Regions from separate parts of the Homo sapiens genome. Here region 1 is linked to region 2. The links are contacts of gene promoters, found by promoter capture Hi-C in blood cells and fetal thymus (Javierre and others, 2016). All regions are on one chromosome and are shown on one strand. Each heading gives the region's core, a stretch centred on a gene start or on the middle of the fragment in contact. The rest is flanking DNA. Distances are from core to core; before and after follow the strand shown. Region 1 has its middle 28 kb from the start of ADAM30. Region 2 holds the start of ZNF697 (zinc finger protein 697).

Region 1 (4,783 bases), core at 235-2,734, 220 kb before region 2:
GACAACTACTTCCTCAGTCCCATGGGCCTGGAGACTGTCGTGGGTGGGAGAAAAAGAGAGATACAGCCATGAGGGGAAGGTGCAGGATCCCAAGAGTGTGTGAGAAGAAAAAGAATAGTGAATAAAATGATTGAAAACAAAGGTGTTTTAAATTATGCTGGGAATGAGGAAGCTGTGATTACCTCCCTGTTGAAGTAGAGTCCCTTGAGATACCTCTCATCTGTCAGGAAGCCTCGTAAGACCCCACATCACCATAGAGCTGTTGACCACAAACAACAAGGTTCAGTATGCCAGAGCTCCAAGCCATTTGGCTTCCCTCTGAAAATCACATTATGCTGATTTATGAGGAGTGCTAATAAAATTAAGCTTATCACATACCATATATTGAGCAATTATGTACCAAGCTTATTAAGATCCATTGGAGTCCTAGCCTGTAATTGCTCAGTGGGTAAAAGTAAGTTTTCAGAGTGATGAATTATCTTTGAGTTACTGGTACAATATGAACTCACTTCTCAATGGGATAAATAGAGGCAGTATAAATAACTCTGTATAAAACTTTTAATAATAAGTATAAAAATCACCCACTTTCCAGATAAATATAAAAGATAATTCATTAAGAACAAAGAGTGCTGCTCAACTCCATTGTTCTTCAGAGAAACAAGAGTCTCTTTACGCCCTTCAATAAGCTGTACTTATCTTGACCTCTCAGTCCATGTAATAAAACAGAAAGCTTCAATTTGTAAGTTAAGATTACTGGAGTTCAAAACAGAGACCATAAAGTAGCAGTGAAAACTGGCATCATGCTTCTGGAGTTGGAAATGGGCACATACAAAAGAATATATGGTTTGGGAAGGAACTTCGGTAACATATTTAGTTTAATAGGGACCTAAAGGCCACGGAGTATTTGATCCATAAGCTAACCATGACCCTACACACTGATTATTCTGGTTTGACTTTGGCCAACAGTCACTATGTTTTTAAACTTTTATTTTAGGTTAAGGAGTATATGTGCATGTTTGTTATATAAACTCATATTCCATAGATTATTTCATTACCCAGGTACTAAACCTAGTACCCAATAGTTATTTTTTCTGCTCCTCTCCCTCCTCCCAACCTCCGCCCTCAGGTAAGCTCCAGTGTCTGTTGTTCCCCTCTTTGTGTCTGTGTGCTCACATTATTTTGCTCCCACTTATAAGTGACAACCTGCAGTATTGGTTTACTGTTCCTGAGTTGGTGTAGATAATGACCTCCAGCTCCATCCATGTTCCTGCAAAGGACATGACCTCTATTTTAAGAAAGGTCAGGGAATTGCATAAGAGAATATCCACATGAAATGGAGAAAACACAAAAGATCGGGTTGCAAATAAACCTTATGAGAATCATAAACCATACCTAGTTTCAAATTTTATTAATTGATATTATCATACTCAAGAAGAAAGCTAATTGTGAGACACACACAAATCACAAGTATGAGAGCACCACCATCATTCCCCAAAGAGCCTCCCTTCCATATTAGGAAATAATGTAGCCCAGATGTAATATAAGAGCTCTGTAAGTGATGTGCGAGATTGTAACTTACTTAAATATGGAGCCATTTTTGGTCATTTCCATTTGATAAAGCTGATAGTTGCATAGACTATGTGACAATTTCCAAGTAACAATGGCATGCAAATCTACAGATTCCAGGTCTCACTACCATGATTACCTATGTAGATCAGACACATCTTACTAAAAGCATTCCACATATAAGAAGGTTTCCAATAGTAAGGACCATTGGTGTATTTACCAGGCAGCCTGTCACTATCTGTTTACAATGAAAATTGACTGGGCTACCTTTTTTCTTTTCCCAGGCTATCCTTCAGTAAAGGGAGATCATAGCAGCTGAAAGAAACAGTTCTTTGTGTCTTTTCTCCAAATCATTTTGTGGAGATTTTAGCCAAATCAGCAGGAGTTCAATTTTCCTTGTCTAAGAAAAGGAACAATGATTCCTTCCAGCGTTGGCCATTAGTCAGTGCCAGATCTCAGAGAGTTAGTTCAGAGTATTATTCTTAGAAATAGCATGATAGCAATCCTATCTGGAATCATTACACACCTAAGAACACCCCTATGGTGTGCAATAATCTGTCTCTAAGGCTTTTTATTATATCCTGGACACATATCCTTTTCCCAGTGGTGAAACCAGTTTACAGGTACTGTTTAACCTGGGATGGGGCCAAGCAGAAGCCTGACCAAGCTTGGAATTGAGCTGCATACAAAGTTGGCTTCCATAAGGCTACATGATGTGAAGTTAAATTCCATCCTGAAATACTATTAGGAATACACATTCCAAATTTAAATGTATAGATATGGTATCTTTGGGATGGGTATCAAAGTTCTACGCCTGTAATCCCAGCACTTTGGGAGGCCAAGGTGGGCAGATCACGAGGTCAGGAGATAGAGACCATCCTTGCTAACATGGTGAAACCCCGTCTCTACTAAAACTACCAAAAATTAGCCGGGCGTGGTGGCAGGCGCCTGTAGTTCCAGCTACCAGGGAGGCTAAGGCAGGAGAATGGCATGAACCTGGGAGGTGGAGCTTGCAGTGAGCTGAGATCACGCCACTGCACTCCAGCCTGGGTGACAGAGCGAGACTCTGTCTCAAAAACAAACAAACAAAAAAAAAAAAACAAAGCTCTTGGTACAGGATGTGCTCTCAGAAGTTATGTTGCTGGACTCTGTAAAAGGCAACCATCCCCTCACCTACACACTTGGGCATTTCCTGTCCAAAGGCCTCTGAGACATCTAAGACATGCCAGCAATCCTACCTTTGAGGAGCTCCACCTTTATAGGCCCCCAAATAGTGAAGGTACCTGGGAAGTGGATTCTTCTCTGCCCACGGTTAGGCATTGGTGCTACACTTGGGCCTGGAACCCTGAGATCAGACAAAATAAAAAAGAAATTGTGAGGTGGGAAAGATATTTTATTATACTAAGCTATATAATTGCATTCTCCCTTTACCCTTCATTCCACTTCACAAATCTAGAAGACATTCCAGTGGGATCTGCACTTTACTTACCCTCATTCAAGCTGAGGACTCAATAATTAGAATAAACTACAAACCCAACCTTTATGTTTTGACTACCATGTGTTTCAGTTGAATATCAGGGATTTCATTTTCATTTTCAGAAAGGCTACTGCAGTGAGAGTGATAAGTAATGTGTTATAACTATGTAACATTACATTCCCTGAACTATCTATTTATTCAGAGTGTCAAATTCATTAGGCTAGTGTTCCTTTGACCACACATAGGAAACCCAACAAATCTTAAAAGTGTGGGGTCTGTGGGCTGGGATAGGGCAATATCAGCTAACACTTAGGATTCTCTCAGAGTTCACTGGTTCTTAAGTGGATGGAACCCTTGATTGTCAAGTTTCTGTATCTTTTCTTTAGGAGATTATAAGTCTAGATGCCTGCTATTTTCATGTTGACAAAAATGTGTACAAACTATGAAATGCCTTCCATATGTTCCTAACTCCCAAGACACATGTTTACTGAGTCCTTGATATGTGCAAGTTCCCCTTTGCATCCATCTCAGGAGGAGACTTCCTAGGAACCCAACCTATATCACCTGAGATCCCTGTTAGCCCCTCTGTACAGTCCTTCCCTGCTTTTGGTGCGTTTTTGCTCCTCAGGATTCTTCTAGTAGGACTATCCTTGGGCTACTGTAACCATTTTGCACCCAGTCCCCCAAAACGGGATGTATACGGGAGTGTATAATCCACATATCCCATTTATCTCTCTTCCCTCAAGGCATTAGCCAATCACTAACAGATGCAGCAGGAAATTTCGGTTTCATGGGCTGGGGAAGGATAGCTCTTAAACATAACTTACCTCCAAGTTCTGCTGCTGCTATCCAGATAAAGCTCCCTCATGGCACTTTGCCTGACATCACACATACACAGCAATTGACTCAAAATGGATATAGACCTAGTTGTAAGAGCTAAAATATAAAAGTTCAGGAGGAATCCATGGGAGAAAATCTTTCTGAATTTGGGTTAAGCAAAGAGTTCTAAGATAATACAGCAAAAGCACAAGCTATAATAGAAATCATTAATAAAATGGACTTCATTAAAATTAACAACCTTTCTGCTTCTAAAGAGACCATTAAGAAGAAAATAGTCATAGGCTGAAGGAAAATGTTTGCTAATCATACATCCTACAAAGGACTTGAATTCACAATATATAAAGAACTCTGTTAACTCAACAAGAAGAAACCTAATTTTAAAAATCAGCAAAGGGCATGGATGCACATTTTAACAAAGAAGAAATATAAATGGCTAAAAAGCATATAACAGGGTACTCAAAGTCATCAGTCTTTAGGTAGATGCAAATTAAAACCACACTAATATACCACCTACACCCATGAATATGATTATGCTTTTAAAAACACAGAGAATACCAAGCCTTGCTGATTATGTGGGAAAACTGGAATCCTCTACTATTGCTGGTGGGCTGGTGGAAAGGTCAAATAATAGTCACTTTGGAAACCAGTTTGACAGTTTCTTAAAAAGTTAAACATATGGTTACCATATGATCCAACAACTCCACACCTAGAAATCTATCCAAGAAAAATCAAAACATATGTCTACACCAGATTTGTTCTGGAATGTTCACAACAGCATTATTTACAAGGGTCAAAAACCGGAAGTACCTCAACGTCCATCAGCTGCTAAATGGATAAACAAAATGTGGTGTGTCTGTGGAATGGAATTCTATTCAGCAATGAAATCTCATATATGCTGCA
Region 2 (4,122 bases), core at 1,272-3,771:
TGTGACATCTGTCTTTTCAACTGGAGTGTGGGCTTCTTGGGGGTAAGACATAGCTGGTAGTTACTCAGTAAAATATCTTACTGTTGAATGTTACATGTCTACTCCAGACATGGAGACTAGCATGAATAAATGTTAAACAAAACTTTGTTGAAGTAACAAAATAACTGAGATTGGAAACAAAAGGATGGGACAGGTTTGGAATGGCGTGAAATAATGAGTGAAAGTTCAATTATTCTGAGCTCAAGTTAGAAGTGTAGGAGAAGGAGGAGAGTGTGTTGTATTAAAAGCAAGGCAAAAAATAGTTTCAATGGGCAATGTTATATGTTAAATGCTACAAGCAAGTATATCATGTTTTTCAGACTGAACACTATTAGAGGCTACTTGATTTGCAAAACAATAATCAATTCTTTGGGGTGGAGATGGGGAGATTAGTTTCACTGGAATGTTACCAGGTTGAGAATATGAAGGAGCAGTAATTTGTAGGGTCCAGAAAATGCAAGGATCACAGCACAATTAATTTAGGTGGACAGTCAACAGAGTGGGCATACAGCAGGACCTTTAGGGTGGGCATACAACAGGAACTTTTGGGAGGTGAACAGTCCTATCTGCATGCTTCTCATCAATTCTACATTTTAATCCAGGCCATCTTATCCGTGAGGTTAAGGATCTCTAGAGAAAGAGAACTCTAGCATAAACTTTACTTAAATGTAAGCTAAACCCTTCACCCAAATGTTTTAATCATATGGATTTAAAATGTGAAATGACAAGTGGAAGTGACACGTAATTATGACCTTATTTTTTGAAACAGAGTCTCAATCTGTCACCCAGGCTGGAGTGCAATCACGGTTCACTGCAGCCTCAAACTCCCAGTCTCAAACGACCCTTCCACTTAAACGACCGAGTAGCTGGGACTACAGGTACGCGCCACCACACCCGCTATTTATTTTATTTTACTTTTCGTAGAAACAGGGTCTCACTGTGTTGCCCAGGCTGGTCTTGAACTCCTGGGCTCAAGTGACCCTCCCACTTCGGCCTCCCAAAGTGCTGTGATTACAGGCATGAGCCACCAAGCCCAGAGACTTTTCTTTCTTTCTTTCTTTTTTTTTTTTGAGACGGAGTCTCACTTTGTTGCCCAGGCTGGAGTGCACTGACATGATCTCAGCTCACTGCAAGGTCTGCCTCCCAGGTTCATTCCAGTCTCCTGCCTCAGCCTCCCGAGTAGCTGGGACTACAGGTGCCCGCCACCACGCCCGGCTAATTTTTGGTGTTTTTTTTTTTAGTAGAGACGGGGTTTCACCGTATTAGCCAGGATGGTCTCCATCTCCTGACCTCGTAGTACGCCCGCCTCGGCCTCCCAAAGTGCTGGGATTACAGGCGTGAGCCACCGCGCCCGGCCTCCCAGAGACTTTTCTATCTGATTACTTTTCAAACACATTCTAGAGCATCCTAGAACTTGTCCTTTCCTAGTTCAGTTTATTACTTTCTGCTCATGCTCCAGGAGAGAATATAGCTTTTAGTCATTTAGTCTCTATGTGGTCCTTCCTTGATTTTCTAAGGGTCCTGAGTCTGTGGTCCCAGAAATAGACAAAAACATGTGCAGGGCATCATAGACTCTTGCTAGGCTGGAAGTAGAGTTCCTCTCTTGTAGCCAATGTCCTCTTCTCCTCACCCTTCCACTCCCGAAATACACACACTCAATATACAGTGGCCAGCACATCTGTTTTATGGGACCAAGAAGCTGAATCCTAAAGGTTAATGAAGGAAAGATACGCAGAAAGTCCAGCACTTTCCTAATTCAGCAGCACACAGGTTTTCACGTCTAATATTTAATTTACGTAATTTATTTTCAATCTCAATTTAATTGCTTTTCTTGAAAAGATGTTTGGGACAAGGTCAACAATGAGGGAGGAATGTCACCGGGTCGGGATCTGGAAACAATCAGCTCTGTATGGTTTTAAAGATGAAGCGCCAAGATCTTAAGGAACCTGAATTCCTGGTGAGCAATCAAGTTCTTTAATCGGCCCCCAGCAGGATGTCAACGGCGTAAAAGACAAAAAGAAAATCTATTTTAAAAGATAGATTTTGTGTTTTTAGATTAATTTTTAAAAAGCGAACCCACCACAAACTTCCCAGTTTTTAAAGAAAAGGCCTCTCCCACCGCAGAGCCCTCCCGAACCATGGGACAGCTCAGCGGCAGCGTCCCACCGGCTGCCCGCAACCGGTGCCGCGAGCTCGGAGTGCAGCGCTGGGATCTCGCGTGCTCCGGGACAGCGGGCTCCTTGAGCGCCGCGGGGCGGGGCGTGGGGCAAGACCCGCCGGCCGCTCCCTTCCCCACAGCGCTTAGAGAAGCAGCGAGCGCCTTTCCTCCTGTCCCGGAGTCCTAGCCTGGCCCGAGCTACCTCCAGGGCGCCCGCTGCTGCGGTGGCAGGAAGTCCCCGGGAACTACAAATCGAGGCATGCTGGGAACATTCTCCCGCTCCTCCCAGGAAATGTCCTTTGTCCAGCCCTACAGGAAGCCCCAGTGAGGAGTCAGCCGGGCAGCCAGCCAGCGAGCCAGCCAGCCAGCCAGCCAGCCAGCCAGCCAACCAGCCAGCCAGCGGGCCACCCAGCGGCCGCTGCAGCCGCCGCCGCCGCACAAGGGCAGACGCGCTGCGGTGCGGGGCTCGGGCCGGGGCGCTCGGTGCCCTAGCTCCTCGCCGCGCCAGCCGCCTCGCAGGTAGGAGCGTGGCTGTGGCTGGGCTCAACCGCCTCCCGGGGATGGGGCTGATCGGGACCAGACCCGACCGCTGCGGGGATGGGGTGTGTGTTCGAGTGCGGTGGCGGAACGGCTGGGCGAAGTTGTGCCTCGTAAAGTGGACCGTTGTCCGCTCCCCTGGGGCGCAGGGCCCCGGGCTTATGGGGTGCTCTCGCGCCCCCAAAGCCAGGACTGAGCTCCCTCAGGGGTATGTGGCGAGGGGCGGGGAGGAGGAGGCTGAGACTTGAGGGAGGAGACAGCGATGCAAGAGGGAATAGGACCGTCCCGCCGACCACCGAAGGGGGCATCAGAGACCCTCGGAGAAACCAAGCCCAGGGAGGAGCTTGGAAGGCAAGGAGAAGGTGAAGGGCTTTGTGTGCAGCTGTGGACCTTGACGGACTGCGCTCCCCTTGCCTTGTCTGTTCGTGCCTCCAGCCCCACTGGGGCTAAGGGAGGGTGGGGGGCTCCGAGAAGGGCAGGAGAGAGGCGGCAGGTCATCTTGGGTCCTAGTGAATGAAATGTGTGCCTCCCTTTTCCTCTCTTCTCCATTCTAGCCCACTCAAATGAGCGGCTTTGGGGCTGCCATCAGACCGGGCAAATGACACAATAAGGACGGGTGGGTGGAGAGATGGGCAGCAGCTCGCAGCCCAAGAGGGGTGGCCGTCTAGCCCCGGGAGGCATTCCAACCACACGTGTCCATGTAGGTAGGTGGTGGGGTGGTGGGCAAAGCTGGAACCTGCACCTCGCGGGGATGCCGAGGCTCAGGATTGTGCATGGAGGCACGGGTGAGGCGCGTGTTGGGAGGAGTGGGTGAGTAAAAGGTTGAGGGGGAGCAGCGACACAGAGGCGCTGAGTGTACCTTATGGCCAATGTACATTATGGCCATGCATCGGGAACTGACTACCACTTCCTCTGGGACTTTCCACGATTTTCCTTTTTCCTAACCGCCTCCCCCAACCGCCCCCGCCCTGCCTCCCCCACAGGAGTGAATCACCCACCCCTTACTACATGAACCCTGGGCTGAATTGAAGTTGGTGATGTATCCCTGTCCTTGTAGTGGGCATGTTTGTCCTTAACCTGTAGGATGACACCAATACTCCGCATCCCCTACTGCGTTACCCTCCTCCCTCAAGACTGAGCGTCTGGTAAATGCGGTTGGATAATGGCTAGCGAGTTAAATGTCTTTGAGTAGCTGTGGTGGATGAGTGGGCAACTTTGAATACAGTCCAAGTGTGACTGTTGTAACTGAACTCAGCATGCCTAAGGGGCCACACTCACTATCTCTCCTTTCTCCCCTCACCTGATTTTTTGTTGATGCCCCCAACTGTTTACCTTCTTCTCTCAACAAGCCAACATGTGGATATTATTTAATGTGGAATACGTTTGAG

Evidence for each region. Contacts are between HindIII fragments. The CHiCAGO score rates a contact against its expected background, and 5 or more counts as called.
Region 1: a contact is called between a fragment that was not itself captured here and the fragment with the promoter of ZNF697 in region 2, in 1 of 17 cell types (M1 macrophages). The highest score is 5.1, in M1 macrophages.

What each region holds. Positions count from the first base shown.
Region 1 is chr1:119,865,774-119,870,556 of GRCh38, reverse strand. No RefSeq gene overlaps it. Among named protein-coding and RNA genes, the nearest start is that of ADAM30, 28 kb to the left of the region's middle. The HindIII fragment of the contact is 1,503 bases long and covers 733-2,235 here.
Region 2 is chr1:119,646,665-119,650,786 of GRCh38, reverse strand. It overlaps ZNF697 (zinc finger protein 697), which reads left to right and starts at 2,521. Exons shown (of 3, transcript NM_001080470.2): 1 at 2,521-3,096. LOC124904389 (a long non-coding RNA gene) reads right to left here and starts at 2,471. Exons shown (of 2, transcript XR_007066506.1): 1 at 2,400-2,471; 2 at 1,811-2,063. RefSeq lists enhancers at 2,444-2,513, 1,685-2,525 and silencers at 2,584-2,643, 2,941-3,104. The HindIII fragment of the contact is 7,030 bases long and covers 1-4,122 here.